Regions from separate parts of the Homo sapiens genome. Here region 1 is linked to region 2. The links are contacts of gene promoters, found by promoter capture Hi-C in human tissues and cell types (Jung and others, 2019). All regions are on one chromosome and are shown on one strand. The core of a region is centred on a gene start or on the middle of the fragment in contact, and the rest is flanking DNA. Distances in the headings are between cores, read along the strand shown. Region 1 has its middle 9.0 kb from the start of PRPF18. Region 2 holds the start of FAM107B (family with sequence similarity 107 member B).

Region 1 (6,004 bases), core at 1,426-3,925, 1.2 Mb after region 2:
CCTACTACCATATTTTGGCATTTTTAAGGTGCTCTCTTTTTTTTTACATTTCAATGTTTCTGAATTCAGGATGCACCTTACAACCAATATGTTACAACCACCACAGTGAGGACTATGATGTTCTCTCCAGATATTCTCTTCAGGCCAACCCACCTGTCCCTCATCTGCAGGGAACAAGGGTTGCTGAGGGCACACAGCTACACCCTGCACTGGCATGACCCCAGGCGACAGGGACCAGTCTCGGCCACAGGGACCAGTCTCAGCTGCAGGGACCCACCTCAGCCAGGGTTACCACTGCTTCAAGGGGCATCCCAAACCAATGACTGATGTAGAGATTCAAAAGCCCAACTCCATTGCCTCAACTCAACTCTAAAGGGTCATTCTATCTAGCTCCAGAGCTTGCCCCAGGAGCATGACAGAAGGTCTCAGCTGCAACTTCTTTGCAGTCCAGCTTCTCCCTCTGCCAAACCCAGCCTTCCTCATTTCCTTACAGATGCATCTCCAAGAGGATTCCCAAAGAAACAGAACCATTTGCTCACAAAGTAAAGAAATGTTTTGTTCTGGACTCATGGGTATACGCTTATCCGTTTGGTAGGGAATTTTAAATTGGTATTCTAGTTTTTACATCAGTTATTTTTGTGGATATCGTTAATGAGAGTTGCTCCCTGGCCTGGTCCAAGTCTGGTAACACCAACAGAATTGAATTTAAGAGTGTTAAAATTTGAACCGGGCGCAGTAGCTCATGCCCATAATCCCAGTACTTTGGGAGGCCCAGGTGGGCGGATCACCTGAGGTCAGGAGTTCAAGACCAGCCTGGCCAACATGGTAAAGCCCAGTCTCTACTAAAAATACAAAAATTAGCCAGGTGTGGTGATGGGCACCTGTAATCTCAGCTACTTGGGAGGCTGAGGCAGGATAATGGCTTGAACCCAGGAGGTGGAGGTTGCAGTGAGCGGAGATCACACCATTGCACTCCAGCTTGGGTGACAAGAGTGAAACTCCATCTCAAAAAAAAAAACAAAAAAGAATGTTAAAAGTTGAGAAGATCTTGGATCCTGGTAGATCTGCAAATATCAGTCAGCCCTGTGATGCCCAGGCTGAGACTGACACCAGCTGACAACCACCAGTGCCATCTTCTTTTCTTGAACATTCACAGTAATCGGATGGGGGGGCAGCCCATATACCATAGCCAGTGCCCTTTTCTTGTTCCATGCCATTTCTTGTCTGCTGTTATCTGTCCTTCTATTCTCTTTCTCCCAAATCTTTTATACTGTTTTATTAGTGGTATATTCGAAATAAAATGAATTAAAGAGGGAGGTCAAGAGAAAAAGAGAAAAAATTCAAGATTAGATTAAGAAAGGAGGCTAGGCACCACGGCTCACGCCTCTAATCCCAGCACTTTGGGAGGCCGAGATGGGCAGATCACTTAAGGTCAGAAGATCGAGACCATCCTGGCCAACATGGTGAAACCACATCTCTACTAAAAATACAAAAATTAGCTGGTGTGGTGGCACGTACCTGTAATCCCAGCTACTCGGGAGGCTGAGGCAGGAGAATCACTTGAACCCAGGAGGCGGAGGTTGCAGTGAGCTGAGATCACGCCACTACACTCCAGCCTGGGTGACAGAGTGAGACTCTGTTTCAAAAAAAAAAAAAAAAAAAAAGAAGAAGAAGAAGAAGTAACCAAGAATGCAAAAGTGCTTGAAGGAAATGTGAGAAATACTGCCTGCAACTCACTGGCAATAAACTTGAAAACCTAGAAGAAATGGATGATTTCTTAGCAAAAATCTAAGTTACCACAATTAACCAAGAAAGAGTAGAAAACTTTAATAAGCAAATGGAACACAGAGAAAGCAAAGTGATTGTAGACCCCACTTATAAAGGCGCCAGATCCAGATGTTTTCCTATTGAGATCTATGCAGCCTTTGAAGAAGAAATACTCTAACATGATTTGAGCAAGTTATTCTCAAACTTTTTGGTCTCAGAACCCCTTTCCATTTTTAAAAATTCTTGAGGACCCCCAAAAAGCTTTGTGTGGGTTATAGCTCTTGATATTTGTCATACTAGAAATAAAAACAGAAATTTTAAAAAATTAATTCACTTAAAATCATATAATGAACACTTTATATATTAATACAAACAACATGTTTTTGTCAAAAGCAATTATAGTTTCAAAAAATTTAATGAGAAAAGTAGCATTATTTTACACTGTTGCAAACTTCCTTAATGTCTAGCTTAGTGGAAGAACACAGGATTCTCCTATCTACTTCTCCATTCGATCTATTGCAGTATATTATATTGGTTGAAGCATATAAGGAAAATCTAGCCTCACAGAGATACATAGTTGGAACAGGGAAAAGTATCTTAATTCTCATGGAAATTCTTCTTTGATATTACCTCCAACTTTGAGTAGCAGTCGTTTTTTAAGAGTTAGTTGCAACGTGGAATCTGAAACATTAAAATTCACTGGTCTATCTTGAATTTTGGATGGATCTTTTACTCATACGTGATTTTGTAGCAGAATCCATTGGTCATTTGGAAAGTATAAGCTCAGTGATGTATACAGATCTTCCAAATGTTGACACATTTTATTACACAGTATTTTAAAAATCACATTCATTAATACCACCTCCTCCCTCTCATCAGAAAAAAAGTCTTTTTTGTTGTTTTGTTTTGAGACAGAGTCTTGCTCTGTCGTCAGGCTGGAGTGATCTCGGCTCATGGCAACCTCTGCCCTTCAGGATCAAGCGATTCTCCTCCCTCAGCCTCCCAAGTAGCTGGCATTACAGGTGTGTGCCATCACGCCCGGCTAATTTTTGTATTTTTAGTAGAGACAGGGTTTCACCATGTTGGCCAGACTGGTTTTGAACTCCTGACCTCAAGTGATCCACCTGCCTCGGCCTCCCAAAGTGCCAGGATTACAGGCGTGAGCCACCACACCTGGCCAGAAAAGCCTTTTAATCCCTGGGCAGACATCAAGCTCATGGTGACAGGTGCAACTTTCCAAAATGCTAATTTTTACTGAAAGCTCACTTTTATCACTAGCAACAAATATTGTCTGGTGTTTTCCTCAAATGACAGGCTCACTTTGTTCATTTGCAAAAAAATGTCCACCAGAGAGTATAAATTAGTTCAACCATTGTGGAAAACAGCGTGGCGATTCTTCAAGGATCTAGAACTAGAAATACCATTTGACCCGGCAATCCCATTACTGGGTATATACCCAAAGGATTATAAATCATTCTACAATAAAGACACATGCACATGTATGTTTATTGCAGCACTATTCACAATAGCAGAGACTTGGAACCAACCCAAATGTCCATCAGTGATAGACTGGATTAAGAAAATGTGGCACATATACACCACGGAATGCTATGCAGCCATAAGAAAGGATGAGTTCACGTCCTTTGCAGGGACATGGATGAAACTGGAAACCCTCATTCTCAGCAAGCTATCACAAGATCAGAAAACCAAACACCACATGTTCTCACTCATAAGTGGGAGTTGAACAATGAGAACACATGGACACAGGGAGGGGAACATTACACACCGGGGCCTGCAGGGGGTGGAGGGCTAGGGGAGGAGAAATACCTAATGTAAGTGATGGGTTGATGGGTGCAGCAAACCACCATGGCATGCGTATACCTATGTCACAAACCTGCACGTTCTACACACGTATCCCAGAACTTAAAGTATAAAAAAAAAAGAAAAAAATCACACACACACACACACAAGTGAGATGTCATAAAAAGAAAAAAAATGTCCACCAGATACCCAACTCTGAAGAACCATAGTTTGTCTATTGCTTATTCTTTCTAGTAAAAGAAATATTCCATGGGGAAAAAAAGCTAGTTCAGTTTGCATTTCAATTGCACAATGCTTTTTCTAAAGCCAACCATCATACTTCTGTATGCAGCAGGTTGCTTTCTGTGTACTTCCTGTTTCATCACACAGAATATTAAAAAGATGCTTATTCAAGTGTCAAGATTTAATAAAATTAATAATTTCTACTGCTTTATTGAAAATATGTTTAAGTGAAACTGGCCTTTTTTTTTAATTTTTCTTTCATGGGTATATGGCAGTGAAGACTATGACGGCTGGTAAGGTTTCATGCTGGTGTTTTGGTTCATGCTAATGTTACCAGCACACTGACTGTTGTTTTTGTACCTCCAGTGCAAATGTCAACATAGTGAAAAGGGCACATAATGTTAGCGTTATTGTAAAAATAGCTTTGACCTCACCAATCCCCTCAATGGACCGCACTTTTGAGAACTGCCGCTCTAAAATTATTCTAGACTACAGAAAAATTTGGAAAGCTCTCCAGGGCATTTTATGAAGCCATGATAAACTTCATACTGAAGCCTGAAAAAGGACCAATGGAAAAACATATATACATTCTCATTGCATTTATGAACATAGATTGAAAACTTGTGCCTAAAATATTAGCAAATAGAATTTAGCAGTGCATTAAAAAACACACTATGGGCCAGGCAAAGTGGCTCAGGCCTGTAATCCCAGCACTTTGGGAGGCCAAGACAGGCGAATCACAAGGTCAGGAGATTGAGACCCTCCTGGCTAACATGGTGAAACCTCGTCTCTACTAAAAATACAAAAAATTACCTGGGCTTGGTGGCATGCGCCTGTGGTCCCAGTTACTTGGGAGGCAGAGGCAGGAGAATCACTTGAACCCGGGAGGCAGAGGTTGCAGTGGGCCAAGATCCTGCCACTGCACTCCAGCCTGGGCAACAGAGCTAGACTCTATCTCGAAACACACACACACACACACACATCCGCACACACTATGACTAAGTAGGGTTTATTCCAAGGAAATGTACCTAAATAATTAACTACATCAACAAATTGCAAGAGGAAAAATAAAGAATTATATTTTTAAAAAACCCTGAGAAGGCATTTAATACAATGTAGGGGTCATTACTAACAATAATAATAATAATAAAAAACTCTGAGTAAAATAAATATAGGGAAATTATTTAAATATGATAAGATTACTTAATAATATTCAATAGTAGACACGATTCTAAATGGTGAAATACTAAAACAATAAGATGTGGATCATCACTGTCATCATAATAATTCAATCTTGTTTTAGATGTTCTGTGAGAGAAATAAGAAAAAATTAAGAGTAAATATAAATATTGGAAAAACGGAGATAACGTTATTGCATTCTGCCAATGATTCAATCATTTTCCAAGAAAACCCTACAAGCCATTGACTTTTTAAAAACTAGAATTAACAAGGAAATGTAATATAGCTAAATTCAAAATAAGTTTAAAATTGATGTTTTTTCTGTGCATGCAATAATGAGATAGAAGTGGAAATAGGAAAATGTTACATTTAAAAAGTACAAAATCTTAGAAATAAAGAACAAAAAAGTCCAGATTCCATGGGGAAAGGTTTATAAAATGTTATTGAAGGATATAAAGCAACACCCAGATAAAGGAATGACAAAATATGTTACTAGCTAAGGAGGCAAAATAACATAAAATCAATTTTCCAAAAAGTAATATAGAGAGTCCATGTTTCAGTTATAATTCCTTTTTTTTTTTTTCTTCAAGATGGACTCTCACTGTCACCCAGGCTGGAGTACAGTGGCATAATCTCGGCCCACTGCAACCTTCGCCTCCCAGGTTCAAGCGATTCTCCTCCCTCAGCCTCCCGAGTAGCTGGAATTACAGGCACCCACCAGCATGCCCAGCTAATTTTTGTATTTTTAGTAGAGACGAGGTTTTGCTATGTTGGCCAGGCTGGTCTTGAGCTCCTGACCTCAAGTGATCCGCCCTCCTCGGCCTCTCAAAGTGCTGGGATTACAGGCATAAGCCGCTGCACACAGCCTACATGAGGAAAGATTTATAAAGTGTCATTGAAGGATATAAAGCAACACCCAAATAAAGGAATAGCAAAATATGCTATTGGCTAAGGAGGTAAAATAACATAAAGTCAAATGTCCAAAAAGTAATATAGAGAGTCCATGTTTCACTTA
Region 2 (6,557 bases), core at 1,737-4,236:
TGTGCACAACGTGCAGGTTTGTTACATAGGTATACATGTGCCGTGTTGGTTTGCTGCACCCATCAGCTCGTCATTTACGTTAGGTATTTCTCCTGATGCTATCCCTCCCTCAGCCCCCACCCCCTGACAGGCCCTGCTATGTGATGTTCCCCTCCCTGTGTCCATGTGTTCTCATTGTTCAACTCCCACTTATGAGTGAGAGCATACGGTGTTTGGTTTTCTGTCCTTGTGATATTTTGCTGAGAATGATGGTTTCCAGCTTTACCCATGTCCATGTAAAGGACATGAACTCATCCTTTTTTATGGCTGCATAGTATTCCATGGTATATATGTGCCACATTTTCTTTATCCAGTCTATTGTTGGTGGACATATGGGTTGGTTCCAAGTCTTTGCTATTGTGAATAGTGCCACAATAAACATACGTGTGCATGTGCCTTTATAGTAGCATGATTTATAATCCTTTGGGTATATACCCAGTAATGGGATGGCTGGGTCAAATGGTATTTCTAGTTCTAGATCCTTGAGGAATCTCTACACTGTCTTTCACAATGGTTGAACTAATTTACACTCCCACCAACAGTGTAAAAGTGTTCCTATTTCTCCACATCCTCTCCAGCATCTGTTGTTTCCTGACTTTTTAAAGATCGTCATTACAAAATAACTTCTTAGAGGTAGAGTGTTGGATCAAGGTCATTGGAAATGTCCTCTCTGGAGTATGTATCTGTGTGTGTGCACGTGCATGTGTGTTTTTGGAAAGCAGGATTGCATACTGAGAAAAGTATGAGCTCTGGGGCCAGGTTGCTGGACTCATCACCTTTTCTCATTTCCTTAAGCAGTGCTGTGACCTTGGGCAAGTTACTTAAGTTTCTGTGTCTTGGTTTTCTAATGAGTAAAAATGGGAATAATAATATCACCTTTCTTCTAGGGTTGTGAGGATTAAATGAGTTAATTTGCTGAGATTCATGTCTGATACCAAACACTCAATAACCATGGCCTGTTACTGAGTGTTATTCTAGGTCAGACTTAGCAACACACTAATCAGAAAGTCTACTGTTCTTAGCGGGCCAGTGCTGGAACTCCGATGAGTTCATGCGTGCCTCTGAGCACACCCACTGAGCGAGGAGAGGTGGTCCTCAGAGCCCGGATGCAAGCCCAGGGCCTCCGCAGACCTAGAAAGTGGCTCTGAGCTTTCTTCCTCAGCGGTCTCCTGAATGTGGCCGCTCGCAAGCTGCACTGTGAACTGCTGACTCTCTGTTCCAAAAGGGGCTTGACACATAATTGAATGAATATATGAATGAGTGAATGAAACCAGGTGTAAGAGTGCATTTTTCTTTTCTTAAATCCCTTCCTGTTACCTCCAAGCCTTCAAAAATGTCTTATGCAGCATCACAGCCCCGATTTACTATACGTGTGCTTGGAGGGGCACAGCATGGCACGACCCGACCCGAGTGGACTGTAGCAACCAAGTCAAATGGGAGACAAAGTGCAGTTCCGAGGGGTCTCCAGGAATATCTGGGAGGGGGGACCCTGGTAGAAACCTGAACCCCCTGATTTCTTATGGGTGGGGAATTTGGACAGCTTGCACTTGGGACACAATGAAAAAAGAATGAGCTCACAACCCTGGGAAGCCAGAAACAGCTTGGATAGCACGGGGCCTGCCACACGGTAACCTCTAAATAAATGGAAGCTTTCTATATTCTAACTTTCAGTAGAGACTAAAATAAAATGTGCATTTGATGCCATATCCACTCATTCTAAAGCCATATCTGCCTTTTTGTATTATGAATATGACTGTCCATTTAGAACAATATTTCCCGTATGGCCATTACATCTATAAAATGATTGTTAGATAGAATGAGACTCAGAGGACAGATAGGAGAACAGGGATCTCGGGCACCCAACAAGCCCTTCTTAGTGGCATAAACTTGCCTTAGTCACATGAAATTTCAAAGAATTGGTTTCTGCCTCTGTAAAACGGGAATCAGTGCCATAATATAATAACTACCACCTGTCTGGGCCAAAGAGCACATCTTGACATTAAATTAAAAGAGAGAGCAAACAAATTAATTAAGAGTGGGTAACATGCCCAGAAATCTTGACCCTAAAATCACTATTAACGGTAAAAGCATTACAGTATTACATTTCTATAACATTCCTAGCAGACAGTTGGCTAAGGAAAAATCTTGATTCTGAATTGTCTTAGAATATGTTTATAATTTATTATTTTTCACCATTCACATATTAATGTGTTGAGAAACAGAAGATCTATGTTCAAAAAGGAGTTACTTTCTGAAAGTAGGTGATATATACCATATAGGTAGAATACTTCACATGTACATAATACCTCCACACATAATAACATAATACATAAGGATAATTGTTAATGTAGGGCTCTCTTTTTTCTTTTTGGTATTGTTGAAAACTAATCAAGAACTTAGCCTAGCTAGTAAAAAAAAAAAAATCAAATTACCAAAGACCTATTTATAGTTATCAGAAAAGGCAATGTGGATCCTGAAACCAGGAAACTTGTTTTGAGGGTGGGGGGAAGATTCCGGGAAGATTCCGGAAAGATCCCGAAAAGTCCAGAAAGATTCAGAAAACACATCACACCGCATCTCTCCAGGCGAAAGATTGAGTCTACCTCCTATTTTAATAATGAAACAGCTGCTAGGGTCGTGGCCCTTCTAGGGGTCTTCATTTGTGATGGACAACTGGGTCGTTTTTGTTTTGTTTGGGGGAATAAATATTTGAAGGGGGGTAACCAAAGAAGGTTTTGCTGCTGTTATGATGTTATTGATACGCAGGCTGACGCTATTATGGCAGATGCTATCAGGCTACATTATCTTTATGCCTCCTAGGTAACCTGAAGCAATTGTCTATTGACTTGGCACTACCCTACCCTGAAGCGTCTGCCCTGCCTAGGAACTGTAACCGGAGCCACTCACATGCCTCCCCAACAGCTTTCTTTAGCCACTGACAGCATCACAGAAGGAAGAGCGCGAAATTGCCCAGGATGGACACTTTCAAAGGGGCCCCAGCGGCTAAGTGACTCTCAGGGAAGGTGGCCTTGCCATCCCAACTTCTATTTAGGGGCAACCACTAGCAAGTTCTTCTCTTCGGGCAATTGGAAAGAGTTCCTATAAGCAAAGTGGAGGTGATGTGGACCCCTGGAAAATTTCCTTGCCCCGTTTGAACTTTGCAATGATTCACTGCAAGTCATGTCCACGTGGAAAGCAAGACTCACCAAAAGACTGAAGTCTCCCTCTAGAAGCATGCATCCATTTCCGTGCTCAGCTCTGCTCGCCTGTTTTGGGAATACGAGGGAGAGTGCTTCCTTCAATCAGTCCGGCGTGGCTGATACTCATTCCACCGTCCGTGTGCAGCCTGTGGCCAAAGCAGGCAGACAGCCAAGACACCCAAGCGCAGAAGGAGCTCCAGAGAAAAGGCAAGATTCGAGCACCCATGCAGAGAGAAATGGCAGTGCGAATCGGAATTCAAGTCACCGCACTGCGGCCCAGCCCGCGGAGACGCCTGAAGATGTGCCCGGGTCCCTGGATGATGGGGCGGACTGTGAAGCAGTGGTGTTTCACGCTTCCATCCCCAGACCATCAATTATTGACACGCCCAAGGTGAGTGAGTGTTCGCTCTGCGATTATAGACGGGATGGAGCTGGAGGAGCGTTGGGATCATGTGGCGAATGTTTCAGCAAACAAACTCATTTAACCTTACTGAATAAGGCATTGCGGGCGTTCTCACTAGTGCGAAGAAGTGTGTTAAAGCCGTGTAGATTCTCAGAGTGTTCTCAAAAGATGTGGATGAGGCAATGATAATAAGCACTGGAGCCATGGCAATGACCGAAGGTAACCTTGAATTAACGGGCTAGGGTGCCTTAGAGCCAAAAATGGCTCACTCAATAACAGATTAGGAGTAAGATAGTTTACAAAAACATTTTTTTCCTTTTTCTATTTCCCCCTCCACCCCCACCGGTCTGTCAATTTATTTATATGAAAATCCACAATCTAAAAAGTTTGGCTAGGGAATTCACAAAACTGCCTCTACTTAAAATGAATCACATGATATCAAAGCAGTCTGGAAAAATTTGGAAATGATCATCAGTGTATGCCTAGTGGTACGGAAGGGAACTGACCTATAAAACTATTCATAATATGGATGTTTTTGTGATAATCTTCTGAGAGTTGAAGGCAGGAGGAGGAAGTTATTTAAAAAAAATGGTGCCACTGCTCTTAAGAGTTATTTACTTATTTTCTTTCCATTTTTGGCATCAGTGAATTTTAATTGTTGAGTATTCTGATTAGATGGAGCTGTACAATTATTTCAAAGTTCCCGGTAATCCCAGTTTGCAGATGCAGTGTAGAGGAAAGGTTTTCTAAAAGGTACACTCCAAAGATATCTCTTGACCATTTTTGGTCATTTCCTAGCCAAGTAGCTTAGGACCAGACTTAAAAAACTGAGAAGTCTTTGGGGATCCATCACTAAAGTATTCTGATTTTTTAAATCATTTTTCCACATCCGTTTAACAAATTATTTTTTGGTCTGGCTTGCTTCACAGAATCTAAGAAGCCTCCTTAGCAAGAACACAGCCAACCAGCAAAGATAGGGTTAAAACATCATTTAAAAAATAGTTTCATTTGACACCCTGCAGGTTTATATGAAATGACTGAAGCTTGGGTCTGTCGTCTGCATTCTGAAATTGGACAGAGAGTTTTACCATATCCTCTGTCACAGCAAAAACTGCTATGTTTTTTTCTAGCACCACTAAACCAAAGCCCATAACCAACCAGCAAAAACCAAAATTTTCAGTGTATAGCCACATCCAGATTAAGATATTTTTGGTAGTATTATAGGTAGCTGATTAGAATTCATGGCCAAGTTGATATTTGTTGGATATTTATGGTACCAATGATGTACAGTTTTAATGAACCGGAAGACTTTCTGTTGAGCAATGCAGACCCACCTTATATTACTGAAGACAGCCGCAAGAACAAAGGGTTACTTTGATTTTATCTTTCTGTTTTAGTTGCACATGGGACTCAGGGACTCAAGGCAAGCATGTGAATTCAAATAGAACCAATAACACAAAATGGGGCCACATCCATGTTTAGTGTCCACTTGGCAGGAGCAAAGCCATGGGTGGTCCACAGCGTAGGATGGATTACAGTTGGGAAGCCCGGAGCAGAGAGGACATTGTAACAATCCAGACAGGAACAACAGGGAGATAAAGTGGGAGGGGCTCCATGAGGCAGGACACGCGGCAGTTGACTGTGCGGTCCAAACCAGGCAGGGAGGGAAGCAGTGATGCAATGCAAACACTGAAATCAAGTGCCAGGAGGTGCAGGAAGAGGGCCTGATGTGGGTAAATGGGCATCTATTCTAGTTCAAACACCGAGAGCTAAGCTGTGCAGAGCACTTGTAGTTCGCTAGCCCTTATTCTAAGTGCTTTACACAGAGTATCTCAGCCAACCCTGGTGACAGTGAGGTGCATATATATATATATATATTTTTTTTTTAAGATGGAGTCTTGCTCTGTCTCCCAGGCTGGAGTGCAGTGGCACGATCTTGGCTCACTGCAGCCTCTGCCTCCCAGGTTCAAGCAATTCTCCTGCCTCAGCCCCACGAGTGGCTGGGACTACAGGTGCCTGCCACCAGGCCCAGCTAAGTTTTTGTATTTTCAGTAGAGATGGGATTTCACCGTGTTAGCCAGGATGGTCTCGATCTCCTGTCCTCATGACTCCCCCGCCCAGCCTCCCAAAGTGCTGGGATTACAGGAGTGAGCCACCATGCCCGGCCAGTGCATATTCTTATGGTGCCCATGTTACAGAGGAGGGCATGGATGCTTAAAGAGGGTAAGACATTTGCCCAAGGCCACAAAGAGAGGATGTGGCAGAGACAGGACTGGAACCCACTTCTGTTTGACTCCAAAGTCCATCCTCTGAATTATAATGTGCTTCTACTACTAATTAATTGTGTAGTGTTTGAGGATTTAGGATCAACTATTCATATGTGATCTCGCTTGATACTCAATCACATTTAAATATCATACATATTGGCTGGGCATAGTGGCTCATGCCTGTCACCCAGAGCTTTGGAAAGCCAAGGAGGGAGAATCACTTGAGACCAGAAGTTTGAGACCAGCCTGGGCAACATAACGAAGGTTCATCTCTACAAAAATGAATAAATTAATTCCATGTATTTATATGTTGATGTCGATATAATTATTATTTGTTTTTTAATTTATTTTTATTTGTTGTTATTTTAATTGATATATCACAGTTGTATATTTTTTGGGGTATGTATACATGTATAAATGTGTAATTAAATCAGGGTAACTGGGATATCTACCACCTCAAACACTTACCTTTTCCCTGTGTTGAGAACATTACAATTCCTGTCTTCTAGCTATTTTGAAATACACAATAAATTATTGTTAACTATAACTTCTCCACCGTACTATCGAATACTCGAATTTGTTCCTTCTAACTGTACTTTTGTATCCAGTAACCAACTCCTCTTAATGATATTCAATAACTATTATTAT

What was found. Contacts are between HindIII fragments. The study calls those that stand out against the background at their distance.
Region 1: a fragment that was not itself captured here is called in contact with the fragment with the promoter of FAM107B in region 2 in 1 of the 25 tissues and cell types used here (lymphoblastoid cells).

Annotation. Positions count from the first base shown.
Region 1 is chr10:13,574,956-13,580,959 of GRCh38, reverse strand. No RefSeq gene overlaps it. Among named protein-coding and RNA genes, the nearest start is that of PRPF18, 9.0 kb to the left of the region's middle. The HindIII fragment of the contact is 7,679 bases long and covers 1-6,004 here.
Region 2 is chr10:14,771,326-14,777,882 of GRCh38, reverse strand. It overlaps FAM107B (family with sequence similarity 107 member B), which reads left to right and starts at 2,986. Exons shown (of 5, transcript NM_031453.4): 1 at 2,986-3,630. The coding sequence starts at 3,220. The HindIII fragment of the contact is 6,601 bases long and covers 1-5,669 here.